2 separate regions of the Homo sapiens genome follow, and region 2 is linked to region 1. The links are contacts of gene promoters, found by promoter capture Hi-C in blood cells and fetal thymus (Javierre and others, 2016). All regions are on one chromosome and are shown on one strand. Each heading gives the region's core, a stretch centred on a gene start or on the middle of the fragment in contact. The rest is flanking DNA. Distances are from core to core; before and after follow the strand shown. Region 1 holds the start of MISP (mitotic spindle positioning). Region 2 overlaps HCN2 (hyperpolarization activated cyclic nucleotide gated potassium and sodium channel 2).

Region 1 (5,714 bases), core at 2,007-4,506:
TCTCATTGGAAGTGGCAAGGGGCTTCCCTCCTGGGGGCAGCTACACTCGTCCCCAGAGGCACATTCGTGCACATTCTCACAGACACCGTCTCACACGTTGGCTTTGGACAACCAGGCCCCAACTTGGTCCCTGCCCTAGGGACCTCCAGCCTGGTGCCCAGTGCTCAGGCCACCTCCTGGTCCAGTCACCACCTGCAGCCTCGGCAGGGCAGGTACAGGGGCCACCTCGGATGGGAGCCTGGGTCCCTGCCTCCGCTCTGCCCCTGGGTGGCTGGGAGGAGAGGCCCTCTCGGGGGTGACCTGGGCGTCAGCCGTGGAACCCCCTCCTCCTCCCTGGAGTCTGCCTGAGTCCCTCGAGCCGCGAGCCTTCGCTGAAGTGCCCTTGCTATAACCCCCTCTGCTTCTGGTGTGTGACGAGGCCCCCGATGTTCTTGATTTTCCCAGAGAAGCAAATAAACAGCGTGAACAGCCCCAGTTCCTGGAGTTCTTGCCTTTCAACCTGGCGAGGAAGGCGTGGCCAGGCCAGGGGGTGGGGCCTGCCGGCCTTTGAGCCATTAAAGGGAGGCTGAGCAGGGTTGCGGTGTGCTGGCTTCACCTGCCTGCACCCGCTCACCCTGAGCGCCTTGGGGTGGTGGGAGGCGCTGGAATCCCCACTGTGCAGGTAAGGCCTGGCTGTAAGGGGCTGCTGTGGGGGGGCAGGACTGGCTTCCCGGGGGGCCCTCGGGTTCTGCGGCCGCCCCGTCCTGTCCTTTGTTCCTCCCTTTGCTGGGCTCACAGCCCCTGGGTGATGACAGAGGGTCCCCTGGACACCCACAAGCTCTGTAGAGAAGCCGGCCCCTGGGAAATACACAGGAGGCCTGGGGAGGAGGTGTCTGTAGAGACCAGTGTCATGCTCACGGGAAGGTGCTGCCCCGCCAGCCCCACTCTCTCACGCTGTAGTCTTGGAGAAGTCGCTGCCTCCTCTGGGCCTCAGTTTTCCCATCTGTAAAATAAGCCTTCGTGGCCGGGCACGGTGTTTCACACCTGCAATCCTAGTACTTTGGGAGGCCGAGGTGGGCGGATCACAAGGTCAAGAGATCGATACCATCCTGGCCAACATACTGAAACCCTGTCTCTACTAAAAATACAAAAACTTAGCCGGGCGTGGTGGCTCACGCCTGTAATCCTAGCTATTCAGGAGGCTGAGGCAGGAGAATCGCTTGAACCTGGGAGGCGGAGGCTGCAGTGAGCTGAGATCGTGCCACTGCACTCCAACCTGGGCGACAGAGCGAGACTCTGTCTCAAATAAAATAAAATAGGCCTTCGGAGCCCTGAGTGGGAGGCCAGCCTCAGCCTGGGCGTGGGACGTCTCCACAGTGCCCCCAGCTCATGGGCGATCCAGCCTCCACCCTGCTGGGGCCTCAGTTTTCCCCGATGAGGTGGTGAGTGTGGTGGAGAGCACTGCTGAGGGAACTCAGGTTCCAATTCCAGCCTAAACCCCCGCCATTCCTGAGGCGCGATTTTAAGCTTTCCGTACCTCCGTTTCCCTATCTACAAGCCAGGGAGAAAAGGACGTGAAGGGGGTGGCGGGAGGCGGCGGTGGGAGGCGCCGTGAGGCCGCGCACCCTGAGCTTTCACACACCCAGCAGCGTTAGGTGCCACGCTGTCCTTTGGGGGCCCTTTATCCAGATTTGTCCTTAAACACCCCCATCTTGGCCAGGCGCCGTGGCTCGCGCCTGTAATCCCAGCACTTTGGGAGGCTGAGGCGGGGGCATCACCTGAGGTCAGGAGTTCGAGACCAGCCTGGCTAACGTGGCAAAACCCTGTCTCTACTAAAAATACAAAAATAGCTGGGCGTGGTGGCTCATGCCAGTAATCCCAGCTACTAGGGAAGCTGAGGCAGGAGAATTGCTTGAACAGGGGAGGTTGCCGTGAGCCGAGATCGTGCCACTGCACTCCAGCCTGGGTGACAAGAGCGAGACTCCGTCTCAAAAAAAAAACACAAAAAAAGCACCCCCCTCCTGAGCAGCCCTGCTGGATTCGTAGCTGGGGGCCTTTTTACTCGAAGAAGAGACTGAGGTTCAGAGGGGCTCCACAAGCAGCCCCTCTGGCGTAGGTCAGGACAGAGCCCCAGCCTGGGGAACTGAAGTCCCTGCCCCCTCAGCTGTGTTCCCTGCCCTCATAGACGGCGCTAGGCCCAGTGGCCCGACTTCCCCACAGATGCTGGGCTCCCCACAGTCCCAGCAAGGCCTCTGCACCTTGACTAAGAATCCAGGAGGACCATGGGCGCCTGAGGGCCTCTGCGTCCCCATCTCTCGGGGTGGCCTGGGTCTTTTGACGGCCTCGTGCGGTTCTTTTTTTTTTTTTTTTTTTTTTTTTTTTGAGTTGGAGTTTTGCTCTTGTCGCCCAGGCTGGAGTGCAGTGGTGTGATCTCGGCTCACTGCAACCTCCAACTCCTGGGTTCAAGTGATTCTTCTGCCTCAGCCTCCCAAGTAGCTGGGATTATAATAGCGTGCCACCATACCCCGCTAAATTTTGTATTTTTAGTAGAGACGGGGTTTCGCCATGTTGGCCAGGCTGGTCTCGAACTCCTGGCCTCAAGTGATCCGCCCGCCTCGGCCTCCCAAAGTGCTGGGATTACAGGTGTGAGCCACCAAGTCCGGCCCCCTCGTATGGGTTTTTATGTGGATGGGGCCTAGGGAATTCCTCCCAGCAGCCCTGAGGGAGCCCGGGCGTGATGTTCCCCCACGTCCCGGAGGAGAAAACAGGGCTAAGAGAGGTCAGGTGGGATCAGAACCCAGGCCACACCAAACCCCCCCGAGTCTGCCAAACCTGGTTTATGCAAGAAGGGGGCCATCTAGGGGAGTTGCCCCAAGGGGTGGGCTGGGCCAGAAGGCACGGACGGGATTGGGACTCAGCCCCTCCGGCCCCCCAGGAGACACAGGCCACTGTGCACGCTGAGCTGCTGTGTGGCCCTGGACACCTGCTGACCCTCTCTGAGCGGTGCTGAGAGGCGGTGGGAGGGCCAGGCAGCCAAGGGAGGTTTCGGCTGAGTTCTGGCTCCTCGGGGCCACCTGGAGGCCCTGGGGGTGGAGGGGCAGCCGGCAGCGGGCACGGTGCCCGCCCTTGCCCAGCCTGGTATCCTCTTTCTCCCTCCTCCTCCTCTGGACTTTGTTTCCTGATCCCAGGTGGGGCTGGGGGGAGGGGGCACACCTGCCTCCCCTGGGTGGGGCCTCTGTTCCCTGGCAACCTGGCGGGCAGGGCGGAGCTGGGAGGCCTCTGTGCCCATCGAGGAGTCAGAGTGGAGGCTGCAGACTGTGGAGCCGGGAGCCGGCAGGTGAGGCTGGGGGCGCCCCGGGCCGGGCCGGGCGGGGATCCTGTGTGGGGCGGTTGGATCCACATTTGGCGTGGGAGCGTCATGTGTCTGTGGGCGGGGTCTGCTTGCCTGGCGGCACTTGGGATCCAGGGAGGCCCCCTGCCCCACCCCGTCACCCTCGGAGCCTCCCTGAGGCACCTTTCCCTCTGCCCCCGCTAGGTACTCTGGGGCCTCAAGGGCACCCACTGGGAGAGCAGAGAGGCCCTTGTCCCTGAACTCTGCTGGGGCTTTTGAACCCCAAATCCCAGAGCCCTCCAAGGGAGGGGCCGGGTTGGCACCCCCATGGTCAGAGGCCAGAGGGGCCCCTCCATGGTTCTGGGAATTCCAGAGGCTTCTGGAGAGATGCTTATCCGTCCCACCAGGCCCCTGACTGGGAGGCTCTGGGCAGTAAACACCCCCGTGGGGCTGGGGGCTGGTTTGGGGACACGGAGGAGGGGTGGCTGAGTACAGGCGGAAGGAGTCTCAGGCCGGGGCTGGGGACTTGGCCTGGGTCCTCGGGTGGGGGTGAGGTGGTAGCCTGGGATCCCGGGCAGCCAGCAGGGACTCGGCCCAGCGTCTGCCGGTGGAGCTCCGCCCAGGAGCCCAAGGAGCTGAGATGACTCAAGGGTGACTGCAACCCTGAGGGATGGGAAAAAGGAACGGGGCCCTCCCTTCTGCATGGCCTCCTTGTCTGAGTCTCGGCCCCACAAGGGAACCTTTGCCCCTCACATAGAGCCAACTGGCTGATGAGGAAGGAGGTGTGGCACCAGGGTCCATAAACCCAGTTTCATTCTGGTATCAACAGAGTTCAGGGTGAGGCTGGGAGGAGCAACCCAGGGGGCTTCCTGTAGGAGGGGGTGATTTGGAGCAAAGTCTGAAAACTGGCTTCAGACACTTGCTCTGTCATCGCTGTGTGACCTCAGATGAGCAGGTTCTCCTCTCTGGGTCCCAGCTCCCTCTCTCGAAAACCGGAGTCGAAAACGGTTCCAAGGTGTTGCAGGAAGAGTCTCAGGACGCCGAGGTCCTTAGCCACCGCCGGGCCTTGCAGGGGCCATCTTCCGTCCTGGGGCTCTTCCCCCGAGGGCAGCGCCGCTGCCCAAGAATGCCGGCCATGAGAGCCGCCGTGGATCCAGGGGTTTTTTTGGCCGACACAGTGAAACCCCATCTCTACTAAAAATACAAAACTTAGCCGGGCGTGGTGGCGGGCGCCTGTAGTCCCAGCTACTTGGGAGGCTGAGGCAGGAGAATGGTGTGAATCCGGGAGGCAGAGGTTGCAGTGAATGGAGATCGCGCCACTGCACTCCAGCCTGGGCGACAGAGGGAGACTCTATCTCAAAAAAAAAAGCGGGGGGCGGGGGTGGGCACTGAGGCACAGGCAGCAGGGGAGGGGGCCCAGTGGCCTTGAACCCAAGAGCTGGACCCCAGGCCCCACCCGCTGGCTTCAGTGAATCACTGGGGAGGAATGAGCAGAGGAGGATGCGTGCCTTCATCCCCACCCAACCCCGACCCCACTGGGAGACCCGGCACCTGCTCGAGGCTGGGCGGACAGCTCCCTTTCTCCCGGAGTTGACGTCTGATGTGGGTTATAAATCCCGCTGTGTAAACGTCTGTCCACTCACTGGGCAAACATTCCTACACCCGCCCTCCCCGGGGAGCTCCAGGGTGCAGGGCGTGGACCTGCCCAGCCCTTCAGGGCCAGAAGGCACGGTGGAGCCGGTCTGCATTCCGCAATGAGCCCGACCCCCACGTCTGAGCAGCTGGGATGAGTGGTGTTTGCCCAGCCAGTATTTATTAGGCGCCTGCTGTATACCAGACTCTGGGCTGCAGGAAGGGTGCTGACCTGTGGCCACAGCAGGCGAGAGCGAGGCCTGGGCTGACGGTTTCGGGTGGGAGAAGGCAAGGCCTTCCGTGAGCTGGGCAGGCGGCGTCCACGGAGGAGGAGGCCTCGGGTCAGGGGAGCCATCTGTGCGTCACGCTTTGGGAGGAAGCTCAGCTGTTTGTGTGGGATTTATTCACCAATGCCGCCTGGTTTTCAATGTTTCCCCTATTTTAGTTTCTGACATTTGATACGCGCGGAAGATTGCATGACACATTGCGTGTAGTTTCAACACGGCTCCCCACGGTCTCTCCACTTTATGCTGTTTGATGCCACTTTCCAGTTCAGAGAGGGGCTAAGTTTTTCTTTTTTTTTCTTTTTTTCTTTTTTTTTTTTTTTGAGGCGGAGTCTAGCTCTGTCACCAGGCTGGAGTGCAATGGTGCGATCTCAGCTCCCTGCAAGCTCCACCTCCCGGGTTCACAGCATTCTCCTGCCTCAGCCTCCTGAGTAGCTGGGACTACAGGCGCCCGCCAGCACACCCGGTTAATTTTTTTTGTATTTTTA
Region 2 (6,319 bases), core at 1,986-4,485, 150 kb before region 1:
TCATTCCTACTCCCTTCACCCCAGCCGCCGCTGATTCTAAAGGCCACACAGGTCCACTTGGGAAAGCCTGAGTCGTGCAAAGGAGGGTGTCTCCGCAGGAGAGGGGCAGGGGCTGGAGGTCTCTGCACGAGAAGGGCTGGGGCTGGAGGGTGTCTCCGCAGGAGAGGGGCTGGGGCTGGAGGGGACACGAAGGCCCAGGGAGGGGCGGTCTGAGGAGGTCGCGTTCTCCGAAGCTTGCTGTCATCCACCCTCCCTGCCCCCGGTGTCACCGAGGGGGCTGGGCAGACCTGGCGGGGTGGAGACCTGGGCAGATCCGGGGTTTGTGCCCTGGGAGCTCTGGGGGGCACAGGGCAGGTGTCGGGTGGAGAGAGGCTGGCGGCTTCCTGACTGCCCTCGGTCCAGTTCCAGGGCTAAGTGCCCTGTGGCCGCCCTGCCGTCTCCTGCTGCTGCTGACTTGCAGGTCTGTGTTTCTGAATTGTCTTCAGCTGGGGAGGCCCCGTGTGAGGGGAGACAGACGAGATGCTCCCCAAAGCCAGGATCTGTTATGTCCCCTGGGGTCCCCGAGAGGACTGGTCGGGGAGGAGCTGCTCCAAGACCCCACCAGGACAGGCGGCCCCTGGGCCCCGCCTCAGATGGCTGAGTGGGTCAGCGGGAGATCAGCCTGGGGGTGCAGCTCTGCAAATCCGCAGTGATGAATCCCAGCATTAGGGCGTGGGAATAAACCCCCCATTATCCTGGGGGGATGGCCCCGGGGGCAGGGCGAGGCGAGGGTTTGTCTGGCTCTGGTCACGGCAGGAAGGCCCAGCGTGTGCAGGATGGTGGGGTGTGCATGGACCCATATCCCAGGTGGCGGTGGCCTGCCCTCTGGTCTGCGTGGAGGGGTCAGGGGTCGGGGTGGCCAAGGCCTCCCCGCTCTCTTCAGGGCCTTCCCTATGTTCCCTGCTCGAAAACGGACATCTTTGTCCAGGCACTGTGGCTCATGCCTGTAATGCCAGTACTTTGGGAGGCGGAGGCGGGAGGATCGCTTGAGCCCAGGAGTTCGAGACCAGCCTGGGCAACATAGCAAGACCCCCATCTCTACAAAAAGTTAAAAAATTAGCCAGGCGTGGTGGCGTGCACCTGTAGTCCCAGCTACTCTGGAGGCTGAGGCGGGAGGATCACCTGAGCCCAGGAGGTTGAGGCTGCAGTGAGCTATGATCGTGCCACTGCACTCCGGCCCGGGAAACAGAGTGAGACCCTGTCTCAAAAAAATAAAAAAAACCTAAAAACCCACATATTCAAGTCACCTTCATCAGCCCCCCACTCACTTGGGCCGGGCCCTGCCTCACCCCCCACCCCACGGTTCAGCCTCGCACCCTGTGCGCTGGCCGCCTCTCTCCTGCCAGATGCCTCCCCGTCCCCCTTTCTGGCCTCCCGGCTGTCAGCATGGGCCTCTCCAGACATCGGTCCTTCTTTCCCTGTCACCTCTACCTCCTCCCTGGCTCCAGCCCTCCCCAGTCATGTCCCCTGGTCCCGAGGCCGCCCACCGGCCTTGAAGGGAACCCGGAGCATCAACCTCCGCACCTGCTGCCCCTCTTCAGCCACTGCCCTCCCCTCACCATCTCATCCACCCACACGCCACCTCCTCCAAGGAGCCCTCCCACCTGCCTGGGGCTGACAGGCCCATCCCATGTGTCTGTCTTGGGGCTGGGCCTGTGTGGTCATCGTGTGCCCCGGCGCCCGGCGAGAGTTCGGTGAACATCTGCCCCGTCGGGATCACCCGGGAACCCGAGATCTCCCCCACCCGTAGCAGCTCCCTTTCTTAATCCTGGGCACCTGCCACGGATCTGGCCATGACTCCACAGCTGAGAGTGCCGTCTCCTAATCCCCCGGCCCGAGGCTCTCCCTTAATCACCGACCTCCGGCCCCTAATCCTCTCCCGGATTGTCCCCATCTGTAAATCCTGGACGGCCTCCGGCCTGAGGCTGGGCTCCTGCGGGGAGGGCCTGGCTGCCCTCGCCCGTTCCCCAACCCGGGACTCAGGCTCCAGCAGGGGCTGAAGACCCCCTGGGCAGGCCCTCCCCTGGGATCCAAGGGGCTGAGGGTCCTGGGCCTTCTGTTGCCAGGAGACCTGGTGTCCTCGTGGGGTTTGGGAGCCGGGTCGGCGGCCTCCTCCCCCAAGCTTCATCCAGCCCTGGAGAGACGGGGACCTGCGTCGGCTTTGGGAACTTCAGGGGAAGAACCCTGAGCTCGGGGCAGGAGAATGACATGGTCTGTCTGGGTTCCCATCCCACTGTTTCACTTATGGCTGGAGGAGCCTCAGTTTCCGTGTCAGAGCCGAGAGAGAGGCTGGGCGGCTGTTGGAGGAGGGCTGAGCTCACATCGGTGTCAGGTGCCGGGGGCCCCACTGAAGCCACTCTGGAGTGAGAGGGGGTCCGAGGCTTCTTCCGGTCCCCCAGGTGTGAGAGCTGAGGCCGGAAGGTTTCCCCAGGGACCCAGCCTCATCCCGGCCTCCGGAGCTGGTCTCCCTCCCTGCCTGCGAGGGCCAAGCTGGACAAAGTGGCAGGACCCCCGCGTTTCCGAGGAAGGGGCCCTCGTAGAGGCCTCACTGTTACCTGTCGGGGATGGGTTTTAAATACAGGATTTAATGATGGTCACTGATGTTTCTGTGACAGCTGAGGGGGGCCTGTCCCTGCTCAGCACTGGGGTTGGACAAGGAGGGCACAGGGTGCCCGGGGAGTGCTGGGGCCCGCCTGGGTCCCTATGGTGGCCGGATGGGGAAAGGGCTGCCGGACGCGGCTGCACAGAGTGTGAGGGGGAGTGGGGTTGGGCTTTGGGCCTTCCCCTGACCCCAGGTCCCCTCTCTGGGGTCCTGTCTTCTGGAGCTGCCTCCCCCTCCCCAGGGCGAGAGGCAGGAGAGGGTCTCCCAAGGTCACTCAGTCTAGTGTTGGGCAAGGAGAGGGTTGGGGTGGAGAGGGTTGGGGTGCACCGGCAGAGACAGTGACGCCCTGCAGGGCTCTGGGGTCCCCTCTGCCCCAGGCCTCGGTTTCCCCTTGGTAGGGGACATGCGTGGGCGCCCTTCTTCCTTCTGACCTCTGGCTGGTGACGACGAGGGTTGCGGCCCCAAGCCCTGCTTGGAGGCATTGTGGTTGGAACGGGCAGGCCCAGCCCCACAAGGGACCCTCAGGGTGGCCACCCCACCTGTCCCTTCTCCTAGGCCCCTCTGCTCTGACCCCCGTAATCCCCAGGAATACTGCCCTGCTGGGCAAGATGGGCTGAGGAGTCCTTTCTGGGGACACAGGAGCAGAAGGCTCAAGGGAGGTGGTTTCCAGACAGTGTGGGCCGTGGATAAGAGGACAGTCCTGGGGTCTCATCCTGCAGTCCCACTTCCATCAGAGGGGAGGTGTGGTACCTGCCCCCAGCTCACCCCAAGAATAAAGGGGGAGAATGTCTGTTAATCATCACCTGGAAAGGAGGCCTTCATGTTATATGGCCGTTTAAAACCAGGTACCCCTTGGCGGTTTCTAGGTCCTCCTGGTGGTTTCTAGGTCTCCTTGGCGGTTTCTAGGTCCCCCTTGACAGTTTCTAGGTCTCCTTGGTGGTTTCTAGGTCTTCCTGGTGGTTTGTAGATCTCCTTGGCGGTTTCTAGGTCCTCCTGGTGGTTTCTAGGTCCCCCTTGGTGGTTTCTAGGTCCTCCTCGTGGTTTCTAGGTCTCCTTGGCGGTTTCTAGGTCCCCCTTGACAGTTTCTAGGTCTCCTTGGTGGTTTCTAGGTCTTCCTGGTGGTTTCTAGGTCCTCCTGGTGGTTTCTAGGTCCTCCTGGTGGTTTCTAGGTCCCCCTTGGTGGTTTCTAGGCCCTCCTGGTGGTTTCTAGGTCTCCTTGGCAGTTTCTAGGTCCTCCTGGTGGTTTCTAGGTCTCCTTGGCGGTTTCTAGGTCTCCTTGGCAGTTTCTAGGTCCCCCTTGGTGGTCTCTGGAGCCCCCTGGGAGTTTCTCCTCGCCCCTCGTGGGGGAGGTTTCTAGGCCCTGTGGCCTTCTCAACTGCTCTTTCCTGCTGGTTTTGTCCCAAGACTGGTGCTCGAAGGTGGGAGGCAGGTCTCAATCCAGAGGGTGAGGCTGGGGCTGAGCTCCACGGTGAGCCCCCTCGGGGCTGAGGGGCAGGGGGCCAGCGGCAGGCGGGTGGCATCCCCTCAGCCCACTCGGTGCTGGGGCCCTGGGGGTCTCGTTGCTGAGCAGATGTGTCGGACTGGGGGCCTGAGCCCTCATGTCCTGTCTAGACTCAGGGAAAGGAAGGCCTTAAATTTCTAGTCCTTTTAGTCATTTGATTTCACCCTTCAAGCTTGTGAGGGGACCCCTCCCCACCCCGAGATCAAGTCAGCCTTTTTTTTTTTTGAGACAGAGTCTCACTCTGTCACCCAGGCTGGAGTGCAATGGTGCAGTTTTGGCTCACTGCAGCCTCGACTTCATGGGCTCGAGCAATCCTCCTACCTCAGCCTCCCAAGTAGCTGGGTCCACAGGTGCGCACCACCACGCTGGCTAATTTTTGTATTTTTTGTAGAGACGGGATCTCACTATCTTGCCCAGGCTGGTCCTGAACTCCTGAGCTTCTGTGATCCTTTAGTCTTGGCCTCCCAAGGTGCTGGCATTAGAAGCATGAGCCCCTGCACCCACCCTTCCCTTCTTTTTTGAGACGGAGTCTCGCTCTGTCGCCCAGGCTGGAGTGCGATGGCGCGATCTCGGCTCACTGCAAGCTCCGCCTCCCGGGTTCATGCCGTTCTCCTGCCTCAGCCTCCCGAGTAGCTGGGCCTACAGGCGCCCGCCACCTCACACAAAAAAATAATACATTTTTGTATTTTTAGTAGAGACGGGGTTTCACCGTGTTGGCCAGGATGGTCTCGATCTCTTGACCTTGTAATCTGCCCGCCTCAGCCTCCTTAAGCCCTGGAATTACAGGCGTGAGCCACCGTGCCCAGCCTGAGTCAGCCCTTCTCTAGGTTTTATCCCCAGCCTGGGTGGTTCTTGGGGGGTGTCCCGAAGGCTCAGCCCCTCCCCATCCCGAGGCGGTGGATGCTTGGAAGAAGAGACTGAGGTTCTCAGGGGCTGCAGGAACTTGTCCAAGGTCACTGTGCCAGCAGGCGGGTGCCAGCCCAGGTCTGGCTGATGCCACCACGATGTGAGTCGCTGGGTCCCTTCCAGCGTTTGGCTCTTGCAGACCGAGCTGCTGTGAACATTTTGGTACAAATGGCTTTTTAATTTTTTTCTCTTCCTTTTGGACCGTTTCCTCGGGATCATTTCCCCGAAGTGGAGCGTCTGGGTCACCCCGCAGACGTGGTGTTAACAGCTTTTCCCTCGAGGAGCCGTCCAGAAGCAAGGAGCCGACTTTCGGCGGCTCCTGAAACAAAGGTCCCGGCGGCCACGCCAGCGATGAGCTCCCAGGTTTTTCTTTATTGGTGTTAACTTTGGGGAGTCCCTCCAGTCCCTCAGCATCTCCTCCGAAAGGATGTGGGGACCCCGGCCATGATAGGGAGGGGCTGGGCCTGGGGTGGGGATAAGGCCTCAAGAATTGGCCGGGCGCGGTGGCTCACGCCTGTAATCCCAGCACTTTAGGAGGCCAAGGCGGGCGGATCACGAGGTCAGGAGTTCGAGACCATCCTGGCTAACATGGTGAAACCCCGTCTCTACTAAAAATACAAAAAAAAAAAAAAATTATCTGGGCGTGGTGGCGGGCGCCTATAGTCCCAGCTACTCGGGAGGGTGAGGCAAGAGAATGGTGTGAACCCTGGAGGCGGAGCTTGCAGTGAGCCGAGATTGTGCCATCGCACTCCAGCCTGGGCGACAGAGTGAGACTCTGTCTCAAAAAAGAAAACCTCAAGAACTAAGAAGGCTGAGTTGGTACAGGGATGGGAAGGGGTCCCGTGTGTGTGTGTGTGTGTGTGTGTGTGTGTGTGTGTGTGTGTGTGTGTGTCAGAGGGTCTCATGTTACCCAGGCTGGTCTTGAACTCCTGGGCTCAAGCGATCCTCCTACCTCAGCCTCCCAAAATGTTGGAATTATAGGCATGAGCCAGTGTGTTTGGCCTAGCCCCCAGTGTTAATGGCAAAATCCTATGAATCTTTGTGCTGGAAATTCAAGACCCTCCCTTGTCTGAGTCAGGCACACGCAGGCCATGTGGGCTCAGACCCCAGTCTGGAACCTCCCCTTCAGCAAGAGCCCTTGGCCCCAGAGCCCAGAGGTTTTTGTTTTGTTGTGTTTTGTTCTTTGAGACAGAGTCTCGCTCTGTTGCCCCGGCTGGAATGCAGTGGCACGATCTCGGCTCACTGCAACCTCCACCTCCCGGGTTCAAACA

What was found. Contacts are between HindIII fragments. The CHiCAGO score rates a contact against its expected background, and 5 or more counts as called.
Region 2: a contact is called between a fragment that was not itself captured here and the fragment with the promoter of MISP in region 1, in 1 of 17 cell types (erythroblasts). The highest score is 5.1, in erythroblasts.

What each region holds. Positions count from the first base shown.
Region 1 is chr19:747,856-753,569 of GRCh38, forward strand. MISP (mitotic spindle positioning) reads left to right here and starts at 3,257. Exons shown (of 5, transcript NM_173481.4): 1 at 3,257-3,316. PALM (paralemmin) reads left to right here. Exons shown (of 9, transcript NM_002579.3): 9 at 1-474. The HindIII fragment of the contact is 4,613 bases long and covers 1,505-5,714 here.
Region 2 is chr19:593,958-600,276 of GRCh38, forward strand. All of the region lies in intron 1 of HCN2 (hyperpolarization activated cyclic nucleotide gated potassium and sodium channel 2), which reads left to right. Among named protein-coding and RNA genes, the nearest start is that of HCN2, 7.2 kb to the left of the region's middle. The HindIII fragment of the contact is 2,153 bases long and covers 2,160-4,312 here.